Regions from separate parts of the Homo sapiens genome. Here all the other regions are linked to region 2. The links are contacts of gene promoters, found by promoter capture Hi-C in blood cells and fetal thymus (Javierre and others, 2016). All regions are on one chromosome and are shown on one strand. Each heading gives the region's core, a stretch centred on a gene start or on the middle of the fragment in contact. The rest is flanking DNA. Distances are from core to core; before and after follow the strand shown. Region 1 overlaps KANSL1L (KAT8 regulatory NSL complex subunit 1 like). Region 2 holds the start of KANSL1L-AS1 (KANSL1L antisense RNA 1). Region 3 overlaps KANSL1L (KAT8 regulatory NSL complex subunit 1 like).

Evidence for each region. Contacts are between HindIII fragments. The CHiCAGO score rates a contact against its expected background, and 5 or more counts as called.
Region 1: a contact is called between a fragment that was not itself captured here and the fragment with the promoter of KANSL1L-AS1 in region 2, in 2 of 17 cell types (neutrophils and fetal thymus). The highest score is 6.7, in neutrophils.
Region 3: a contact is called between a fragment that was not itself captured here and the fragment with the promoter of KANSL1L-AS1 in region 2, in 7 of 17 cell types (neutrophils, fetal thymus, activated CD4 T cells and 4 more). The highest score is 11.1, in neutrophils.

What each region holds. Positions count from the first base shown.
Region 1 is chr2:210,104,686-210,108,172 of GRCh38, reverse strand. The region is part of intron 3 of KANSL1L (KAT8 regulatory NSL complex subunit 1 like); the gene reads left to right. Among named protein-coding and RNA genes, the nearest start is that of KANSL1L, 65 kb to the left of the region's middle. The HindIII fragment of the contact is 3,488 bases long and covers 1-3,249 here.
Region 2 is chr2:210,028,672-210,031,871 of GRCh38, reverse strand. It overlaps KANSL1L-AS1 (KANSL1L antisense RNA 1), which reads right to left and starts at 1,950. Exons shown (of 5, transcript NR_110291.1): 1 at 1,874-1,950; 2 at 365-405. It overlaps KANSL1L (KAT8 regulatory NSL complex subunit 1 like), which reads left to right. Exons shown (of 15, transcript NM_152519.4): 9 at 326-451; 10 at 1,954-2,069; 11 at 2,903-3,027. The HindIII fragment of the contact is 1,781 bases long and covers 884-2,664 here.
Region 3 is chr2:210,133,519-210,136,638 of GRCh38, reverse strand. All of the region lies in intron 2 of KANSL1L (KAT8 regulatory NSL complex subunit 1 like), which reads left to right. It overlaps LOC107985977 (a long non-coding RNA gene), which reads left to right. Exons shown (of 2, transcript XR_001739866.3): 2 at 1-3,120. Among named protein-coding and RNA genes, the nearest start is that of KANSL1L, 36 kb to the left of the region's middle. The HindIII fragment of the contact is 1,178 bases long and covers 867-2,044 here.

The DNA.
Region 1 (3,487 bases), core at 256-2,755, 77 kb before region 2:
GTTTAGTTGTTTATATGCAACTTAGTTGAAATGTTATTATATAAGAAAAACATCACTTTCCTTGCTCTTATAGCTTCTTGAGTTATTGTAAGAAAAAAATTGAGAAGGATGGCCAGTACTGTCTTGAAATAGAACTTTCTGTTTAATGTATTTTAAATGTAAAAAAAATTGTTCTCACTTAAGTTAGAGATAAAGGGAAAGGAAAGAGATTGAGAGATGCTGTTTTGTAAATATCCTGTTTCAATAAGTGCTAGTTTGTGCCTTAAGTCAGAAAACACATCATTTGCCCCTTTACCATTCTTCTTATGGTCTAAACTTTGCTTAAATTTTCAGAGGAGAAGGCCAGGCATGGTGGCTCAAGCCTGTAATCCCAGCACTTTGGGAGGCCGAGGCAGGCGAATTACAAGGTCAGGAGATTGAGACCATCCTGGCTAACACGGTGAAACCCCATCTCTACTAAAAATATTTTTTAAAAAATTAGCCGGGCGTGGTGGCGGGCACCTGTAGTCCCAGCTACTCGGAAGGCTGAGGCAGGAGAATGGCGTGAACCCGGGAGGCAGAGCTTGCAGTGAGTCAAGATTGCGCCACTGCACTCCAGCCTGGGCAATAGAACAAGACTCTGTCTCAAAAAAAAAAAATATATATATATATATTTTTTTTTTGAGGAGAAGAAAGCAGTTATTAGCAACATCCTTTGGTGGTTCTTGCGACAGCTTTGTCAACATATTACAGATTCCTATATTTCCTCTTCTCCCTGCTTCAAACTTTCTAATAAGACAACAGATTCTTCTCACCCTCAGAAAAAAATTGAAATATTTTTCTTGGGAGAACACTGGCTATATCAAATGGTTTCTCTCTTAGATTTCTTTTGTTATCCTGCAGTAGGGGCTTCCACATTTTAAATTGTACCTTTTGTGTGTTTTAAATTTTTTATTTAAAGTTTTACTTAAAATTAACTTTAGTGAATTTATGTGAATAATAGAGATGTTGCTGAGGCAGTTCTTTTTTCACACAGTGTTTTCTCTGTGAAGACCCTGCATTGTCAGGATTTCTCTTCTCAGAAACAGTTGATTTGCTTTCATCTTATGCTAGAGTTTTGACTTGTTTCAGTTGTTGTAACTCGTTTTTCTAAAAATATTTTTTGTCTTTCTTATCTATGTTGTTTTACATATCAGAATATCCTTTTACTAATTTTTTTAAGAACAGAAACTCTCTGCTGTGTCCCCAGAGGATTAAATATAAATATTCAACCCTTTCCTCTCCATTCTTGGCAGTGGTGGATCAGAATGGGCCACTCTCCTCACACTCCAACAGTTTTGTCCAGGGTAGTAGTTTATGGAGGAAAAAACAGATTATGAAGTTGACTATGACGGTCTCCCTGGTTGAATTTTAATTTTTTTTTTTTTTTTTGACAGAGTCTCTGTCACCCAGGCTGGAGTGCAGTGGTGCGATCTCGGCTCACTGCAACCTCCTCCTCCTGGGTTCAAGCAATTCTTTTGCCTCAGCCTCCCAAGTATCTGGGACCAAAGGCATGTGCCATGATGCCCAGCCAATTTTTGTACTGTTAGTAGAGACAGGGTTTTGCTATGTTGGCCAGGCTGGTGTTGAACTCCTGGCCTCAAGTGATCCACCTGCCTCACCCTCCCAAAGTGCTAGGATTACAGGCGTAAACCACCATGCCCTGCCTCCCTGGTTGAATTTTAAAAATATAATTCTTTATTAAACTAACTATAGCAGGCTTTGTACTTATAGAAAGGTAGTATTCTAAAGGTTTGGAAATAGAACTTTGAAATTCAGAGTAGAGTTTTCCCATAGATGCAGATTTATAAATATGGATTCTGAAATCAGACTAATCTATACAGACTGATATCAGACTAATCTATACAGACTGGCCCATACTATAAACTGGAATCAAACCAAAGACAATTGCAGTTAAATTGATAAGGTGGAACTTGTGTTTCTTTGACATGCAGGTACTTGTGGAGAAACCTAGTGAGAGTAGGTTTGAAATTTCCTCTTCTCCCTGCTTCAAACTTTCTAATAAGACAACAGATTCTTCTCACCTTCAGAAAAAAATTGAAATATTTTTCTTGGGAGAACACTGGCTATATCAAATGGTTTCTCTCTTAGATTTCTTTTGTTATCCTGCAGTAGGGGCTTCCACATTTTAAATTGTACCTTTTGTGTGTAGACTTGTAGAAATTTTGAATGGATACTCTCAAGAGCTTTTCAGACTAATGATACCATATCTATTATATCTAATTTATTTTTTTAAATACCAAATGAAATAAGAACTTTTGAGCATGTTTCTTCAGATTTCTTGACGGCCATATTTGTTCATTCTAAGAAAACAGTAATTGGGATCAAGTGGCTCCCCTTCTCCTTGGAAAAGTCAGCATGTTAGCACTATTCAAAATGTAGATTTTTTTAAAAAGCGCATTTACTACTTTTACCAAAAATTTTACTACAAAATAATAAAATATACATTTAATACCATAACTGAATATGTGCATTCTAAAGTTATATATTCTCTAAATTACATAGTGTAAACTAAAACTCATATATAACACATTATTATCTATAGGCAATTTCCATCTTATAAATAAGACTTATGCATGATGTAGGTGGCCCACAGCAATCATTTAATTCATTCCATTTTTGAAATAATGCACACTAATATTAATGTTAGTTTATTTTTTATTACAATAATATAGTATTTTAGCCACATTAGGAGTGTAATAATTTTCCAACTAGCCTATAGGAATTTATTAGCATGTTTCAAATATATATATATATATTTTTTTTCAAATATATATATATATTTATATATGTAAAACCTGTGTGTGTATATAATATATAATATATGTAATATCAGTATATATATAACATAATATCTGTGTATGTGTAATATATATATGGTATATATTACTGTATTATTTTCAGGAGGAAGGGTGGTAGAATAGATAGGAAGGAAAGAAATTTTACAGTGGGAACTGATTATGAAACCATTAAGATCATGCCTTTGCACTCCTTTTTTCTCTTTCTCTGTTGTCTCCATTGCCTCTGAGGAACCTAAAGTTGAGAACAGTTGGAGTGAGGAAGCTGGGGAATGGAGGAGAAAGCCGAGCAAACCAGTTGAGGAATAAGTATGTTTGTGAGTAGGAGGCAGAGAGTACAGAGACAACTTGATCCCTATTCATTCCCCCAGTTCCTTACATTTCAGAATATACCCCATCAAAGTTGAAAGCTTGTGTCTTTATTATTAACACAGCTACCCTGAAAGCAGTGGGAACTTTGATTGGCCTAGAGAGTACTTTTTCTCAGTGGTGCAGTCCTATCCCTGGTTGCTGGCTGACAGCAACAGGGGCAGGGCTCCTTAGGGTGCTCTGAAAGGAGTTAGGATAGAGTTAGATTGTTGTTTGGATGTTTGTAAATTTGGTGTTTTAATTTATAAAATTGGGAGTGCTCAAATGTAAAGCACAAATAG
Region 2 (3,200 bases), core at 701-3,200:
AAAGGTAAGCAAGAACTTAAAGATTCTGATCGCCAAGATTTATATATCTGAGCCAATCCTCACTCTATCAAGTTTCTGTAATTTGGAAGACTTTGAGAACAGATCATCTTCCCTTTTCATCCCCCTCAAAAAAATGGAGAAAATATAAGAAACTGGAAATTCCTGGGGATGTTTTTAGTTGGAGTTGTGTGTCTTGGTATTTATGTTTATCTGTAATTTTGAACTGGTATCTTAAAATTCTGCAGTTACAAATAAAAACAGATTGACATGTTCACTGTCTGTGTTAAGGAACTAAAACTTAATATTTCCTTTTCATTTGTTTTAGTACATAGTACTCTGAATCAATGGAGAAATGGATATTCACCTATATGTAAGCCTCAAATAAGGTCAGAATCTTCTGCACAACTGTTACAGGGAAGAAAGAAAAGACATTTGAGTGAAACAGCATTAGGTAGGTTAAAGTGAGGATATAAGCAGTAGTGATAAATATTAAAAATTAAAAATTCTGATTTTAAAATAACCTCTCATGGGAGTTTATAATCCAGAACAGCCACTAATAACACAAAACATCTATGAGTCTACAAACATGAAACAGCATATTCGTAGTTAATTTAGAATTATTTGTGGACTGGTATCTACCCACTTTATGGCAATTAAGTATTTCCCTCCTATGTTCCCTGACTAGTTGTCTTCTACCAATCAGTCCCTGGATGGGATTTAATCTTCAAAGTTGTGTTCTATGCTCAAAATAGGCTAGTGCAAAGTTGCCTTACAGAAACTGTTAACCATTTATGGTACCTACTGTGGAGATGTTGATGCACTGCAGATTCCTCAGGATTTTGAGAAAGTCAACAAGATTCAACTTATATATATATATAAAGCTTTAAAAACATCTAATAAGATGCAACATGAAGTATACATTACCTAAGATATAAAATGTTTCACTTAAATTGACTGACACTTTAGATCTAACTTCAAGTTTGATGTACATACAGGAATAAAATAAAGAAATGTCATACTACAAATAAATAACTAGACAATTCCAAAAGGGTAGGACATCTGGTCCAGCCTGTCAAAAGTCAATGTAATGAAAAATGATTTATTCTAGACTATAAGAAACCTAGGAGACAATGGCCAATTTTTATATATAGATCCTTATCTGAAGAAACTAGCTATAAAGGACTTTTTTTTAACAAATGGAGATATTTAAATATGGACTGGGTATTAGATTTTATATTATGCAGGAAATATTCTCATTTTAAAACACTTGTACTAAAATAAGGGCAGTAAGTAAACGCATACATATATATATTTACTACACACACACACACACACAGTAACTGGGAACCAAAACAGGAAAAAAAAAAAAAAAGAACTTGGAAGATATACAGAAAATACTAACAGAAGTAAACTTCTAATCAATATCCTGAGAGATATGAGAAATTTCATCTATGAAACAAGAACAGGATGCTGTTTTAAAAAAAGAGTACCAGAGAACAAGTACTTTCGGAAACATGTACTTATAATAGCAGAATTTTTTCAAAAAATTAAGAGTGTTCAGAAGACCAAGGACAGATACCTCACATAAATTAGGATAAAAAGTCAGATATGAAAAATGAGATTAGATAAGAAAATTAAGATAGTTCTGGTGGTTCAACTATGAATAGGAGTCACAGGAAACAAGAATAAAGGGATGAGATGAGGGATTATTCAGGGAACAATAAGAAATATATTCGATAAAAACTGCCAAAGCCCCAGAAAATGGAAATAACTTGTGGCATGACTGCAAGTAAGGCTCCTCTTTTTTCATTTCCTTTTTTGTTTTCTAATACACGAATTTAAACACACACACACAAAACAAGGAATCAATCACCTGTCATCTAATTAGGAAAGTAATTCTAATGATATTAGACTTGTTTAATGTGTAACATTCAATGGTTCTTTCCATGGCAGGAGAAAGAACTAAACTTGAAGAATCTGATTTTCAACACACAGAATCAGGATCCCATAGCAATTTTACTGCTGTTTCCAATGTCAACGTTTTATCAAGAATCCAGAATTCATCACGAGTAGGTTTTTCCATATGTTGAACTCTAAAATAGCTTTAAAAATAAAAACACCTGATTTTGAAAATAATTTATATTTTGCTAATCTATAACAGCCTTACTAGCACATATTAACAGACATTTATAACTATCTTGTTAGAAAACAATATATTTGATTCATACAACTTATTTTTAACTATGAAGCTAAAAGTTCATTAATATTTGGTTATAGCTTCTTTTTATGTGTTAAAAATTTAAACATTATCATGATCATCTCTATTCCTTAACATATTAAGCTAAATAAAGTCTTACTAATGAGAATTCAGGACTTTCTTGTTCTTGTCCTGTTTTTTGTTTGTTTGTTTGTTTTTTTGTTATCTGGCCAGGGAATAGAGAGGTCAAAAGGTGGGAGGGTTTAGAAATGAATTCCGAAACTCAGGAACCAGGAATGCATAAATGAAGAGTATACTGAAGGGCTGACCAAAAATGTTTCACTGCCTTTCCTAATAAAAAGTGGTTACTGATCATTTTCATTGACATTTAGGGTGATGTATGTTGGTCTTTTCTGATAAAGAGTTTTGCATTTAAGACCTATTTTTTGTGGTCTTAAAAATAAGCTTGTATGCTTGCACACATAAATACACATTACACATCTACCAAGAGATTGTTCTGATTTACAAAAGATAGAAAAATGTTTTATTTTTTGGTTTTCTTAACATTTTTTAGTCAGACTTTATAACAATGTATTTACAAAAATTATGTAACGTGTACTGCCATATTTACATAACTGATGAAAGGAGGGTATCATTACAAGTAACTAGACAGTACTGTAAATCTACTGTAATCCTGTTTTGCAGAATACTGCACGACGGAGATTGAGAAGTGAGAGCTCTTATGACATAGATAACATTGTGATTCCCATGTCATTAGTAGCCCCAGCTAAATTAGAGAAACTCCAATATAAGGAAATACTTACTCCAAGGTATGTATACTTACATCTTCATATTTTTCTTCCTTCCTTCCCTAATAAACTTAAATTTTCAAAGTGAAGAATTTTAATTAATGAAAGGAGCATCCTTCTCCCAGTTCCTTCATAGCCATGGAGGGGAAACGGTGAAAAAAAAATTACTCGTGCCTTAAGTGTTATATAGTATC
Region 3 (3,120 bases), core at 206-2,705, 110 kb before region 2:
TTCATCCAGGCCCGTGTACAGTTCAGTTTGAAAACATTACATGGTTGCCTGGCTTCCTGAACAAAAGTGAGACATGCACACACATACACACAATGCTTATTGAACAGTGAAATTGTTTCTTTAGCAAATAAATGTTTTGATTAGTTTAACATTTATTTACAGTATTTCCCTTTTAAAAATATGTCCTTATTTGTCAATGTTTGATGTTACACAAAGATTTTACAAACATATTTAAGACTATTTTACAGGCTATAACTTTGAAAATTCTTTCCATACAAGAGAAGAGGCGTGGTAGCGATAGAATGCATAAATATTTCCCAATCTCTCCTTTTTTTTCTTTTTTTTCTTTGAGGGGTGGGAGGATAGATAATAAGAGAAGAAGACTAAATTTGCCCATCCCATATATGAATTATTTTTAATTAATACTGAAATTTTCAGTTTAGGCAGTTGACACTAGGTTCTGCCAGAGTTCTAGGCAGAATTGCATAAGATCTCAAGATGTGTTTACTCCATTTATTCTTCCTTTTTGGAACCCTTTTTAAGTTCCAACCTCAGATAGTCCTTGGACATCCTAAACTGCACTTTTTAATGTGGTTTATCTTCATGCCAGAATTTCTAGAGGTCACAACTGTATATTTATTTTTTTGTTTTTGTTTGTTGTTTACTTCATGAATGTGTGCATATATGTGTCTATATTGTGTGTGTACAACTTGATGATAGAGTATGTAAGTTATTAACTTGTATGTCAGTAAGGCTCATCTTAAAGACAATGAACATTTTAAATGAGAACTTGTTAGCCCAAATGATCCTAATAGCATGAAATATTTTCGAGGGAGGAATATGTTATTTAAGGTATATGTTAAGCTTTTATAACAAGGAGAAGTCAACATAAATATATAGAATTTATTTTTCTCTCATTTAACGGTCAAGAATTAGATATGCTTTACAGGGTTTAGCAGAGACCTTTTAGCTTTGCTGTTCCTTAGGATGCTGCCCTTGCCTGCATTGTTGAGAGTCACTGGTACTTCATTTCATTTCCATATTCAGTCATTTTTAATGATAAACCCAATCATTTATAATGGCCAGACCTAGAAGTTGTGCACATAATTTTGGCTCACGTTTTATTTTCAAGGACTTTGTTGTATAGTCAGACCTAACTGCAAGTAAGGCTGGGAAATAAGGTCTCTAAGCTGAGCTGCTGAGGGCTCAGCTGAAACCCAAGGAGCTCTATTATCCAAAAAGTATAGGAGGATGGATATTAGGGGAAAACAAGAAGTCTATTCAGTTTGCCTCTTTGGCTACCCAAATGTCCATGTACCTCTTTCTCATTCATAAAACATACCATCTTCTCAAGGATGATAACCCAAAGTCACATTCATTGGGTAAAGTCCTCTATATCGGGTTTCTGTGTGGTTCATCATGATGTGGTGACCAATAAACTAAGAGACAAGTTTCCTAATTTTCTTGACCTCTTGCTTCTTGTATGATGGTATAAAGGACAAGGAAAATTCCCAATGGGAAAAAAAAGAATGGGCCATATATGATAGTTCCTGTTCCTTACAATAATAGACTTCTTGCTCTGGCAGTGGAGTAAGGTCTTGCTAGGACCTTAATTTTGCTTTCTGAGATAAGCTCCCTTGTCATTTGTCCTTCATAGTCCCTGACCTTGCTCTTTGGGAATTACTCTTGGTCTATGATTCTTTGTGACTGTATCTAACATGGGTGTTAGTGTACTCTTATTGGAGACACCACTGCATTCTCACCCTGCTTTCTATTGGTGCAGATTTGGCTCCCAGGGATAGTCTTTGTTAGGCTTATGGTAGTATTTCCTAGTCGAGTTCCCTCCGAAATGTAGGTTTCCATTCTCTTTTTCTTCCTGTCAGTTATATGTGAAAATACCACAGCCAAAGATCTCATTTTGTCATAGTTGTTAAGCCTATGCACTTATTAATTTACTAGTTATTTTCCTCAGACTATCCACCTCTCCCTCAATTTGATAACTGCCTTAGTGTAGTGGCTACTCTACACATGCTCTAACAAAGCTTTAAAGTAAGCTGAAATTTATGAAGTTGAACAGCAAGTAATATAATAACCTGTCAGAACAGAATTCATCACTCTTTAAGGAAGACCACAAAATCCACACATTAACAACATAATCATAGTACCCTTAAAATATGTATTTATATAAAACCTACTAGACATGTGTGTATGTATGTGCACATGTGTGTATTCAACTATTAGGCATGCAAAGAAGCGGAGAAAAATTATTAATGGAAACTGATGTGGAAATGATAATGATCATGAAAGTAGTTGGCAAAGAGCTTAAAATATCTATTGTAAATATGCTCAAGGACTTAAAAGGAAAATGTGAACATAATGAAAGAAATTGAACATATAAAGAACCATTGAACGTTCAGAAGCTAAAAATATCTGAAATGTAAAACGACTTCAGCTAACAAGGGAATAGTCATTCAGAAGAAGTGGTTAATAAATAAAAATCACTGCTAACTTCTCACTAGAAGGTATGTAAGCCAGAAAAATGGAATGATATATTTAAAGTGCTGAAAGGTGGGGAAAAAAAGTCAGTCTAAAATTCTCTGCCCAGTGAAACATTTTAAAAAACAGAGACAAAATGACATTTCCAGATAAGCAAAAATAGAGAGAAGTTGTCAGTATACACGCACTAAAGAAATTTTAAAAGATGATCTTCAGGCTGAAGGAAAATCATACTGGGTAAAAACAGATTTACATAAAGGAAAAAAGAAATGTTAAGAAATGGTAAATATGTGGGTCTGAAATATGTAGAAATTAAATCACACATTTCCAAATAACTCGTGGATGAAGAAGTCACAAGAGAAACTATAAAATGTTTTGAACTGAATAATATTAGAAACATGACATATCAGAATTTGAGGGATGCAGCTACTAAATTACTGAAGCAATGCTGTATGGCTATACATGTTTGTATTAGGAAAGGAGAATAGTGTAGTCTGTGGTCTAAGTCTCCTACTTAAAAAGCAATAAAAATAATACTAAATTAAACCCAAAGCAAATAGAAGGAAAAGGTGATGATAAAGAGTGGATATTCACAGAATATAAAACATGAAAACAATGGAGAGA